4 separate regions of the Homo sapiens genome follow, and all the other regions are linked to region 3. The links are contacts of gene promoters, found by promoter capture Hi-C in blood cells and fetal thymus (Javierre and others, 2016). All regions are on one chromosome and are shown on one strand. The core of a region is centred on a gene start or on the middle of the fragment in contact, and the rest is flanking DNA. Distances in the headings are between cores, read along the strand shown. Region 1 holds the start of CFAP206 (cilia and flagella associated protein 206). Region 2 overlaps EEF1A1 (eukaryotic translation elongation factor 1 alpha 1). Region 3 holds the start of PHIP (PHIP subunit of CUL4-Ring ligase complex). Region 4 has its middle 2.2 kb from the start of SLC17A5.

Region 1 (2,917 bases), core at 399-2,898, 8.3 Mb after region 3:
AAGAAAAGGAAAGGCAATAGACATAAAATGGAAGTGCTTTCCCTGACACCTCATCCAGTGATTACACTTACATCTCATTGGCTAGACCATGTCACAGGCCACTCTCACTGAGAAAGAGGTTGAGAGATTTTTTTTTTTAAAAGAGAACACTGTCATTCCCAACACAGGGTTAAATTAGTAACAGAAAGAGAAGAAAACATTGACATTAAGTAGGAATTAACAGTATCAAACATACTTCAGGGAGTATTTGTGCCAGGATTTGCCCATTAGTTTAAAACTATACTTAATATGATGGTATTATTCTTACCATCTTAAAAGATATTTAATATTCTAATATATAATATATGCTCATGGAAGACATTTTGGTAGCTATCTTAAAGTATAAAGAAGACAAATCAGCCATAAGCCATTACAAAGTTACAACCACTGTTAAAATTTTGCTATCTCACCGTCCTTTGGTTGCTTTACCTTGTATACTTACAGTATATTTGTATATCTAAATTGGGTTCATTCTCTACAAATAGCCAGTCTCATCTCCCTTGTATTTTTAAATTTTGTTTTATAGATCATAAGACAATATATACTCATTATGGAAAAATCTAGAAAAAACAGAAAAGTATAAAGAAATAAAAGTAATTTACCTATAATTCCATCCTTAGATCTAATTGCTTGCTGTGATTTTGAAAAACTGACCTACACTTTTTGTGCATTATATGTATGTCAATATAGTTTAAGTCATATTATATAAAAATTTCGCATTTGGCTTTTAACAAATATAAGACAAACACAAGGTTTTTGTTAACATAATTTTAAATACCTGCCTGATATTTTACTTAAATAACGTGTTTAGATTTCTAAGGCTGTGCTATTATAAATCTTGTTACTCTGAACATCTATTTTTACACAAGCTTCTTCCACATTCCGGGAACATTTTCTAGAAGGCGGAAATAAAATTGTGTTATATTATGATGTATATTCTTGAGTTTTTGTGTTGATTCATTTCCTAGTAATCAGGGAATGTCCTTAAGCAAAGCATATTCTGCATATTTGTTTGCAGTTTGAGAAAAATTACTGTTTAAAAATAAAACCTTGTTGTTTGATGCTCTCCTTCTAATGAGTATTTAATCCTTTTTCACACTTTCACGTCTGAAGGTGGGCCTAACGATATTATCGTTAAGGGATAAAACCTCATTATTTTGACTCGGACACTAATGTGTTCTTATCATGTGCTTCTTGAATGAGCAGTTTTCTCTTCGGGCATCTTGGAGCGTTCTGTTACAGACTTCCTTTGAACAACGGGACATGAAATAAAACCTCGATACTTTTTACTTTTGTTTTTTAAAACTAGATACTTTTACAAGAACTCTATTTGCCCAGGATACAGCCCTTCCGTTTTCCCAGCCTCTCCAACTGGCTCCTCCCTCTCCCCCACCCCGCTTTCAAAGCCGCCTCATCATTCCCACGCTAGCAAGTTAATATCCTTATTTACGAGAACTTGTGTTTCACAGTCTTAACCACGGAGGTTAAGATGTCTCTGCCTGAAATTCCTTTGTTTTTAAAGTTTTTCCAGCCCATCTTTTGGGGGAAAGACCCTCAAAGTGGGACCCCGCCCCACCCCCACCTGGCCCCGCCCCCTCTGGTCCGGAGCCTTCCATCTCCATGGTTACGCGGCGGTGGCTGCGAGCGCCCAACTGCTCCGACCGTCGCGGTGAGGGCCCCAGGACAGAAGCAGACAGACACGGCTCCTGCTGTCGATTCCGATCCAGGTCAGCCTACTCGGGGCTCCGCGCCCTTGACCCGGAGGCGTACCCCGCCAGGCGGCGAGCTTGGGGCGGCTGGCGGAGCTCGGGCGGCTGGAGGACCGCGTCCTGCCTCGTCGAGACTTAGCTCTCAGTCTCGATCCTTTAGGCTGCGCCGCCGCAGAGCTGGAACAGCGGTCCATTCCTGCCGGAGGCGCCACCCCAGGGCTGCAGGGCTGCCCTCTAGCCTTTGCGCGGGTGCCTGAGGCCTCCCGCTTCTGTTTCGCTCCACTGGCTACCCCAGAAGCCGGACCTCGGGAGACTTAGTAATTGGAGGGTGGGTGCAGGGAAGGTGCTGAGCCGCGTCCCTAGCGACCCGGCAGCGGCGCGCATGCGCACACAGATCCGGAGCGCGCACACAGATCCGGAGCGCGCACACAGATCCGGAGCGCGCACACAGATCCGGAGCGCGCACACAGATCCGGAGCGCGCACACAGATCCGGAGCGCGCACACAGATCCGGAGCGCGCACACAGATCCGGAGCGCGACGGACTCTCCCACTGACTGGCACTTGCGCATGCGCTGCCTGTGATCTTGGAGTACTGATTATAAGCTGTTTTAAGCGATTCCCTTAAGCCGCGCACTGTTGTAACCACTAAAAACAGGACTAATTTAGTCCTCACACCTCTGGAAAGAAGTGAAGCAAGTGCCCAAGGTCTCACAGCTGGACAGTGGTCGGGTCACCATGGAATCCAGGCAATCTGGTTTCACTGGACAAAATGCCTAGTGCTTCGTACTCATCCATTGGAAAGCTAATAATGCTGAGGAGTTGGCTTTATCTACCTGATATTGCCTTTGTTATACTCTACATGCCAACTTCCATTGTGCTTAGTTACTGATATTCAGGAAAATCAGAAAACTCGATCAAAACCTACCACTTTTTCCTTATAGTAAATGCTTTTTTTTATCGAGAGTCTGAACTCTATTTTAGATGTGCGGAAAAGATCATTTTAATGATCTGAGCAAGAATTGTTTTCCAAGATTCTAGTACAGTTCTGAAGGGTCATTTAATGAATGTGGTGGAATAAGCATTTCTCCTTTTAAAGCTGTACTCTTGGGTTTCTCATTAATTTTACCTCCCTCCCCTACAAATACTGCTTAGCCTTTTTTTTTTTTT
Region 2 (3,270 bases), core at 26-2,525, 5.6 Mb before region 3:
ATCTCAGTATATGCAAGTAAACTGACTCATTCCTGCTTCCAGTGGGAACAATTTTTCAGTTAAATCTTGCTTCCTTGCATGTCAAGAATTCTCTACTGGTAAATCTTACAGGTGTCAACTTTCATTATCAGGGCATCTATTGGCCATCTATTAAAGGCCTTACCTGTTTTTTCTGTCATCCAGCAAATCTTAGACTATTTACTTGTGTAAACATTAGATAGCAAAGAAACTAAGGACAAAAATCTCTAGTTCAATTTAGACTTGATACCTCAGAGCACTGGCTGATGGGAAGGCATTTTATCTAATTCAGACTCAGATGAGGGAAAACGATAACACTTCATTACAGACTTGTCTATGGCCAATTCAAGTACCTTTGAATCTTGAGCAATACACATTGCCAGTCACTTTAAGAGGCCTTATCTCTTGGGCTGCTTTAACTCCTGCTTAGCATGTCCTTAAGAACACATGTCCTGGCCAGGCATGGTGGCTCATGCCTGTAATTCCAGCACTTTAGGAGGCCGAGGCGATCACCTAAGGTCAGGAGTTTGAGACCAGCCTGACCAACATGGAAAAACCTCATCTCTATTAAAAACACCAAATTAGCACATGCCTGTAATCCCAGCTACTTGGGAGGCTGAAGTAGGAGAATTGCTTGAACCCAGGAGGAGGAGATTGCAGTGAGATTTTGCCATTGCATTCTAGCCTGGGCAACAAGAACTCCATCTTAAAAAAAATTTTTAAAAACCATCACACAAACAGAAAGCATGTCCTTTAATTTTACCTATCCTTCAAACTTAAGCAAAAATTTTCCTTTTATAACCAAAAAAAAACCTTTAGACACTTTTACATATGGGAGGTCAGGCACAGTGGCTCATGCCTGTAATCCCAGCAGGAAGATCGCGAAAAGCATTTTTCAAATGCACAAATGCTTAAAGATTCAGGAGTAAGTGGGCTATTACACCTGTTAAGCCTATTACCATGTAGTTTCATTCCTAGTGACCAAGTAGACAAACTGCTAATTATCAAAGCATAAAAGGTATTAGACTCTGCAGGAGAAAAGCAATGTAGATTAGTCTAATTTTATAGCTACTTCAAATTGCCATCTTTTTCTATTAGAACCTTGTTCCTATTCTGAATAGCACTCAATAGAACTTGTGAAACCATCAAACTGGCATAAAGCTTACTCCACTGACTTCAAAATGGACCCTTCCACTCATAGGGTGTACACTAGCCACTACACTTATTTCTTATGTCATGGCAAATAGTCAACTTTCACTGCCCAGTCATTTTAACCCACGTTTCAACATGCACATCCCAGTAATTTGGAAACATTTTGTTTCCAAAGATTCACTTAACATTGGTTTAGCAACATGAAGCTTTCTATGCAACACAAGGACTCAGTTTTTGGCCTGTTTTAGTGACAGGCAATCAGCAACATGCTGCATTTCTCTCCAGTGTTGTAATCAAAGCAACCCTCCCATAGCTTTAAATGATATTCCTTCCCCTTCCAATTATGTGGGGGGAAAACAACCCTATTCTCCACCCAGAAGTGTTAACTCAAGAATTACATTTTCAAGAAGTTTCCAGATTCGTAAAACCAGAATTAGATGTCTTTCACCTAAATGTCTCGGTGTTGACCAAAGGAACACACAGGTTTCTCATTTAACTTTTTTAATGGGTCTCAAAATTCTGTGACAAATTTTTGGTCAAGTTGTTTCCATTAAAAAGTACTGATTTTAAAAACTAATAACTTAAAACTGCCACACGCAAAAAAGAAAACCAAAGTGGTCCACAAAACATTCTCCTTTCCTTCTGAAGGTTTTACGATGCATTGTTATCATTAACCAGTCTTTTACTACTAAACTTAAATGGCCAATTGAAACAAACAGTTCTGAGACCGTTCTTCCACCACTGATTAAGAGTGGGGTGGCAGGTATTAGGGATAATATTCATTTAGCCTTCTGAGCTTTCTGGGCAGACTTGGTGACCTTGCCAGCTCCAGCAGCCTTCTTGTCCACTGCTTTGATGACACCCACCGCAACTGTCTGTCTCATATCACGAACAGCAAAGCGACCTATTAAAAAAAAAGTTAATTATTACCCAAAGTACTGTTCAGTTGTATTTTTCATCTTTAACACAACTTTTTTACATTTAAGTAGTCATCCTTACCCAAAGGTGGATAGTCTGAGAAGCTCTCAACACACATGGGCTTGCCAGGAACCATATCAACAATGGCAGCATCACCAGACTTCAAGAATTTAGGGCCATCTTCCAGCTTTTTACCAGAACGGCGATCAATCTTTTCCTTCAGCTCAGCAAACTTGCATGCAATGTGAGCCGTGTGGCAATCCAATACAGGGGCATAGCCGGCGCTTATTTGGCCTGGATGGTTCAGGATAATCACCTTGGAAAAAAGATTTGCATTCAGTGCAAATCCAAAGTCTCAAATGACTTTAGCCTCTGCAATAAGTTAATGTTACTTTAAATTGTTACCTGAGCAGTGAAGCCAGCTGCTTCCATTGGTGGGTCATTTTTGCTGTCACCAGCAACGTTGCCACGACGAACATCCTTGACAGACACATTCTTGACATTGAAGCCCACATTGTCCCCAGGAAGAGCTTCACTCAAAGCTTCATGGTGCATTTCGACAGATTTTACTTCCGTTGTAACGTTGACTGGAGCAAAGGTGACCACCATACCGGGTTTGAGAACACCAGTCTCCACTCGGCCAACAGGAACAGTACCAATACCTAAAAATATTTACAGCATACTAAATACCTATGAAGGCAGACAGTACTCTATCAACTCAAATTCAACTTTGTTTACAGCCAACTTACCACCAATTTTGTAGACATCCTGGAGAGGCAGGCGCAAGGGCTTGTCAGTTGGACGAGTTGGTGGTAGGATGCAGTCCAGAGCCTCAAGCAGCGTGGTTCCACTGGCATTGCCATCCTTACGGGTGACTTTCCATCCCTTGAACCAAGGCATCTGAAACACAAGCATGCCAATTTGTGTAAGCATGAAATCGCCATTCCCAGAGCTTTTTAACAATGGTCTTGAAAGCCACTTACGTTAGCACTTGGCTCCAGCATGTTGTCACCATTCCAACCAGAAATTGGCACAAATGCTACTGTGTCGGGGTTGTAGCCAATTTTCTTAATGTAAGTGCTGACTTCCTTAACAATTTCCTCATATCTCTTCTGGCTGTAGGGTGGCTCAGTGGAATCCATTTTGTTAACACCGACAATTAGTTGTTTCACACCCAGTGTG
Region 3 (3,147 bases), core at 419-2,918:
CCCACAAAATTAAGGTTTTTAAGCTATTAAACAAAATATGTCCCAATATAAACACAACTTTCATAGGCCAAGTTCCATCCCACAGTAAATATGTGGACAAAAATCAAAACTCTTCAGTGTACTCCAATAATAATTTTTAATTAAACGAGAGGCATACCATAAGAATTAAAAAAAGCCTACTAAACTTCTGGTTTTAGGGAATTACAGGCTTTACACTTCTGCAAAGATGTGTTTTAGTAAATGCAAGACGAAGCACTGACCAACTATCATCACACATCAGAATCCTTCCAACAAAAAACCCAGGACTGAATTTAAGGAAAACAAAATAAACGACAGAGGGGGAAAAAATAATGTCTTGCCACGGTACCGCAGCGGCTGGATAGCCTGCTTGTGAAATGCTAATGCCACTTCGGAGCAGTTAGTCACCAGCTATTGTGTAGGGCAGGAGAAAGCCGAGCCGGCCGCGCGTGCAGAGCGAGCAAGCGAACGAGCGAGCGCGCTCTCCCTCTTCGCGCCGCTCCCGCCGCCGCCGACTCTCGCGCGCCCCCGCGCCCGCACGGACGCGCGCGCCGGCCCCTCCTCCTCCGGCCTTGCACTGCACAACACTCATGACGTATCTTTATTTCTAGCACATTAACAAAATATCACAAATAAATTGTCCGCAGCCCCTGCGGCCCCGAAGTACGAGTACCCCCGGCCACTGGCCCCCGCAGACCCCGCGCCGGCCTCCCAACCCTCCCCATGGCCTTTGGAGCTTTCACGTTCTAGGGCCAAGTTTTTGTCTCTGTAAAAAATTGCGGGAAATTCAATTTTTATTCGACTCAGGGAAAAGTTTCTTTGCTCTGCGACGTGAATGTCTCACCAGATTCTGGTAGGTCCTGGGATGCTCCTTCCCGGTCCAGTCGGTGCGCCGGGGCAGCAGCTGCGGGGAGAGGACACCCCGTGAGCCCGGCCCCCGGCCCCTACCCGCCCGCTCCCCTCCCCCGCCCGCCCCGCGCCCCGGCGGGGACCCCGAGCCCCGCGCCCCGCGCCCTGCCGGCGGCGGCAGCGGCGGCGCAGCGGCCCAGAGGCGGCCGCGCGGCGGCGGGACGCGCCGGGCCGCCGCCGCCCTTACCTCCTTCTCGGCCACCTCGCGGATCAGCACCTGCAACAACAAAGCGGGGAGAGCTGAGCCCCGCGCCCCGGGCCGCGGCCCCGCCGCCGCCGCCTCCCTCCCCCACGCCCGCGAGCGGCGAGCGCCGGCCCGGCCCGCGCCGCGCGCCGCCGTACCTGAGCCGCCTGCTGACAGGGTCCATCTTCCAGGAACCGGGCGATGAGGAAGTAGAGCTCTGCGCGGGAGAGAGGGACGGGGAGACACACAGGCTGAGCGGTCGGGCGGCGGGGGGCGGGGGACCGCGGGCGGAATCGCCCGGTGCCAGCGGCCCCGGCAGCCCCCCGACTTACCCGATCGCAGCTCCGAGAGGCCTTTCCTCTCACAAGACATGTTTATGGGTCACTTCAGGGCCGCCGACGGGACACCCCGCCGCCGAGGGGAAGCGGGGACGGTGCCGCCGCCTGCCCTATAGCTGTCAGTGTGTGTTCACGAGCCGAGCTTCGGCTCCACCATTCAAGCAACGGCGGCGGAGGCGGAGGAGGAGGAGGAGGAAACAACAACTCTCAGGCAGCGACTACGGCCGTGGCCGCCTCCGCCGCGGATCCCTCCGCCGCAGAAAGGAGTCCGCCGCCTTCGCGGCCCAGGGCTCGGCCCCGGCTCTGGCCCGCGCCCCCGCCCCCCGGCGCTAAAAAAGGAGTGCCTCCGACCCCTCGTCCCCAGCGCTCCGCACGCGGCACAGTGAGACCCCCACCCGCTCCTCCCCGCAGGGCGTGCGATTTATTTATTTATTTCCAGTCGGAGAAGATGTCGGAGCCCAAGCCGCCGGTTGGCTGGAAGGCGCTTTCTCTGTGGAGGCCGATAGTGGCAGGGAGGGGGCCGGGGACGGTTCCGCGGAGGGATCTGACGCACACGGAGCCGCAGCACAGGCTCTATTCAGCGGCGCTGGCTGGAGCTGAGATGGAAGTTAGTTTCTATGTAGCAGAAATATGAAACAAATGAAGCAAAACTGCCCAGAGAGGGGAAATGCCCCAAGGATGGGTCTCACTCACGCGCGTACACAGACACACACGCAGAGAGCACTCTCACGCTGGGCAAGCTCGGGATCGCGCTACCCTTCCCGAGTTGAATGATAGTGTTTGGTTTCTGTCTCTTGCCATGTGCATGTGTATAAATGCTGCGGATTGGCATCTGTGTAAGTCTTGTCCTGCGTTATTTCTGCAGCCTATGCAAGTGTTGTGTAATTTATTGGAGTGCTGTATATTGCAATAGAGGTTTGGGCTGCTTTTTGTTAAGCACTTGCGTTTTGCAAACCCGTTATTTGCTGAAGCCACCTCTGCATATTTCTTTTATTACTGCCATTGCCTTTGGCGTACGTTTTTTAAATGTTTTTTATTGTTAAACGGGCAAAGCGAACTCTTGATTTGTACTTCAGATACTCTTTTTCCTTATTACAAAAAGGCTAGTGATGGCTAATTAGGTATTTGGAATTAAAGAACCTTAAAGCTTTTTTAAGTGTTTACGAGAAGGGAGAATGTAAACCTGAGGGAAAGGAAAGGACGCTAATATTCATGTCTAACTGATCTGGAGGTAATTTAGTGACAGATCGATAACCTGCCTAAGGATATTGAAAGAGTATACTACAGTTTAGCCAAGGTGAATAGTGATTAAATAATTTAAATAATCTGTGTATCTTGCAGTTGACTTCGTCATGCTAATTAATGGCTTCTAATTTGAGATGTAAACCATTCCTGTTTACAGTTAATCACGGGAAGACTTCTTGAAAACTGACGAAAAGGAGAAAAAAAAATCTTTCGTAAATTAGTATGTAATTACCGATTTTATATGCTAAATCATACATCTGTGTTTTGCTGATGAGGATAAGGGCCTTGTTTTTAAAAAAACGAATATGGGTGAAATTAATGGAAACAATAGAAAAAGCCATTTGTTAGAAAACAAGGACACCAAATGATATTTATCTCCAGATGATTTAAGCACTTTCCAAAAAGACTTGAGAGTTCAATATTTTTTAAGGATTGCATTTTAAAGGGAATTTG
Region 4 (2,876 bases), core at 178-2,677, 5.4 Mb before region 3:
TTTAGGCGGAAAAACAGCAATGGAAATTTGTTGAGTCCTATGATGTTGCTGGTTTTATAGGTAAAAGTAATCAACATAGGTAGTTTCATATGGTTCGACCTATGGAATCCTCTGATGTATGTGTGCATGCTTTATCTCCACGATAGAATTTGGATAGATTGTGCTAGCATTTGCGGACTCTGAAAGTGAAACTAGGAAAACCCAGCTTGCCTTGGCAGGGCAGATCTGGATCCGCCAATAAAGGCTGTCTCTGTGGAGGTAGAAAATAAGATGTAGATGCTCTCGGAGAGTTTGGTGTAGACAGGGAAGACCCACAAGCCACTAATTCAGTAAACCAGGTTAGAAGCTTAGTGAGGTTCACGTGAGAACAAAGGGGAGGGTCCTTTACCTAGAAGGGAGGGCGAGGATTTCTGTAGGCATCCCTACCTCCAGATCAGTAAATGCTAGAAAAGTTCTCAAGTTAAAGCAGCAAATCAAGCCTTGTTTCTGAGTTACTGAATTACCATGTAGATTTTTACACTCTCTAAGGGTTGTAGAAAAATGCAATTTTCAAACTGGATTATGCAGAGTCACCTGGCAAATCCTTTTAAAATGTAGATTCAGATTCAGCAGATCTGGTGTGATGGTTAATTTTATGTGTTAACTTGCTGGTTGTCTTTGGATGAGGTTAACACTAAAATCATTGAACTCTGGGTAAAGATGGCTGCCTTCCATAATCTGGGTGGGCTTCCTTCAATCAGTTGAAGGCCTATCTAGAATAAAAAATCCGACTCCCCCACTTCTCTTGCCCAAGCAAGGGAGACTTCTCCAGCAGAGTGTCCTCAGACTTCATCTGCACCACAGGTCCTCCTGGGTCTCCAGGCATGTGCACCATCATCTGTTTTGGGTCGAGTTGGCCAGCCTATATTGTGAAAGCCAAAACTTTATTACCCAAACTACCCAATTGGGGCTGTTTCTCTGAGAAGCCCAGTACATCTGGGATGTGCCTGAGATTCTGTATTGCTAACAAGCTCCCAGATGACCAAGGTTATAGATAACTTGGGCCAGGGAATATAGTTGCAACAGACTTGAAAGACTTCAAACCAGAGGAATTCTTTTTTTTAATATTTTTTATTTTAGAAATTTTAGGTTTACATAAACGTTGCAAAGATAGTACAGTGAGTTCTCCATACCCTTTGCTTAGTTTGACCTATTATTAAGATCTTACATTAGTATCATGCATATATCATAACTAACGAGCCAGTATAGATAATTATTAACTGAAGTTCATACTTAATTTGCGTTTCTTTAATTTTTACCTAATATCCTTTTTCGGTCCCAGGATCTCATCCAGGATGCCACATTACATGTCTCCTTAGGCTCCTCTAGATCGACAGTTCCTGACTTTCATTGCTTTTGCTGACCTTGACAGTTTTGTAGAGTACTGGTAGGTTTTGTAGAAAGTGTCTTAATTTGGGTTGTCGAATTTTTTTTTGAGACGAGGTCACGCTCTGTCGTCCAGGCTAGAGTGCAGTGGCACGATCTCGGCTCACTGCAGCCTCCACCTCCCAGGTTCAAGCGATTCTCCTGCCTCAACGTCCCGAGTAGCTGGGACTATAGGTGCATGCCACCACGCCCGGCTAATTTTTTGTATTTTTAGTAGAGATGGGGTTTCACCATGTTAGCCAGGATGGTCTCCATCTCCTGACCTCCTGCCTCAGCCTCCACCTGCCTCAGCCTCCCAAAGTGCTGGGATTACAGGCATGAACCACCACCCCCGGCCTGAATGTTTTTCTTATAATTAGACTGGGGTTATGGATTTTTGAGGGAAAGGTCATAGAGGTAAAGGGCCATTCTCATCATGTAATGTCAAGGGAATGTGCTGTCAACTTATTTATCACTGATGTTTATCAGTAGTGATGGTAAGCCTCATTGCATGCCTGAGGTTGTGTTTGTCAGGTGTTTTCACTGTGAAGTTAACTCTTTTCCCCCGGCCTTACTTTTCTCTTTGGAAGGAAATCAGTATGTGCAGCCTTCACTTAAGGGGTGGGGAGTTATCTATACTCCACCAGTTTCAGGGGAAGAATTCTTTTGTTTGGGAGATTTGTTTATTCTCCTACATTTATTTACTTATTCAATCATTTATTTTTATTAGTATGATGTCATGGTTATTATTTTATACTTTGGGTTATACTCCCAACACTATGTTATTTATTTTGTTGCTCAAATTGTTCCAGCTTTGGTGACTAAGAGCTCTTTCAGTTGGCTCTTGTGTCTTGCATGCCTCCATTGTTGTGTTTTTTGAGCATTCCCTTACTTTCTGGTACAACAAGATGTTCCAGGCTCATCTTGTGTATTCTCTACCCCTGCCATTTCTATAAGGAGAATGATATTACAAACTAACATCTGAGCATTGGGTGTACTTCTTCCTATTGCAGTGTCATTGATTCTAGGTTCAGAGGAGGTACTTTGGTTTTTGTTTTTATAATCTTCCCAAGAAGATTTTGAGACAGGATCTTACTCTGTCACCTAAGCTTGAGTGCAGAGGTGTGATCACGGCTCCCTGTAGGCTCCACCTCCTGGGCTCAAGTGATCCTCCTACCTCAGCCTCCCTGGTAGCTGAGACCACAGGCATGTGCCACCACGCCCTGCTAATTTAAAAACATTTTTGTTAGAGACAGGGCCTCCCTGTGACGCCCAGGCTGGGCTCAAGCAGTCCTCCTGCCTTGACCTTCCAAAGTATTGATATGATAGGTGTGAACCACTGTGCCTGGCCCCAAGAAGATTAAAAAAAAGTATGATGACACATTTTTTCCCCCTTATATCTGGCATTTATTTCCTGATTGCACACTACCATAAAAGATCATTGTTGGTGTTATTTATTTATTATTATTATT

Evidence for each region. The method cuts DNA at HindIII sites, captures the fragments that hold promoters and counts their contacts. A CHiCAGO score of 5 or more calls a contact.
Region 1: the fragment with the promoter of CFAP206 here is called in contact with the fragment with the promoter of PHIP in region 3 in 2 of 17 cell types (total CD8 T cells and activated CD4 T cells); the score reaches 14.5 in total CD8 T cells.
Region 2: a contact is called between a fragment that was not itself captured here and the fragment with the promoter of PHIP in region 3, in 1 of 17 cell types (total CD8 T cells). The highest score is 5.3, in total CD8 T cells.
Region 4: a contact is called between a fragment that was not itself captured here and the fragment with the promoter of PHIP in region 3, in 3 of 17 cell types (total B cells, total CD8 T cells and fetal thymus). The highest score is 11.1, in total B cells.

The regions. Positions count from the first base shown.
Region 1 is chr6:87,406,324-87,409,240 of GRCh38, forward strand. CFAP206 (cilia and flagella associated protein 206) reads left to right here and starts at 1,649. Exons shown (of 13, transcript NM_001031743.3): 1 at 1,649-1,766. The HindIII fragment of the contact is 4,290 bases long and covers 907-2,917 here.
Region 2 is chr6:73,515,861-73,519,130 of GRCh38, forward strand. EEF1A1 (eukaryotic translation elongation factor 1 alpha 1) reads right to left here. Exons shown (of 8, transcript NM_001402.6): 4 at 3,072-3,270; 5 at 2,838-2,988; 6 at 2,494-2,750; 7 at 2,170-2,404; 8 at 1-2,074. The coding sequence ends at 1,950. Among named protein-coding and RNA genes, the nearest start is that of EEF1A1, 3.5 kb to the right of the region's middle. The HindIII fragment of the contact is 197 bases long and covers 1,178-1,374 here.
Region 3 is chr6:79,076,586-79,079,732 of GRCh38, forward strand. It overlaps PHIP (PHIP subunit of CUL4-Ring ligase complex), which reads right to left and starts at 1,669. Exons shown (of 40, transcript NM_017934.7): 1 at 1,444-1,669; 2 at 1,270-1,328; 3 at 1,115-1,144; 4 at 863-922. The coding sequence starts at 1,483. It overlaps LOC124901346 (a long non-coding RNA gene), which reads left to right. Exons shown (of 2, transcript XR_007059652.1): 2 at 1-681. RefSeq lists silencers at 388-887, 1,387-1,556, 1,687-1,926 and an enhancer at 2,047-2,096. The HindIII fragment of the contact is 4,735 bases long and covers 1-2,594 here.
Region 4 is chr6:73,654,804-73,657,679 of GRCh38, forward strand. No RefSeq gene overlaps it. Among named protein-coding and RNA genes, the nearest start is that of SLC17A5, 2.2 kb to the left of the region's middle. RefSeq lists an enhancer at 304-393. The HindIII fragment of the contact is 2,167 bases long and covers 345-2,511 here.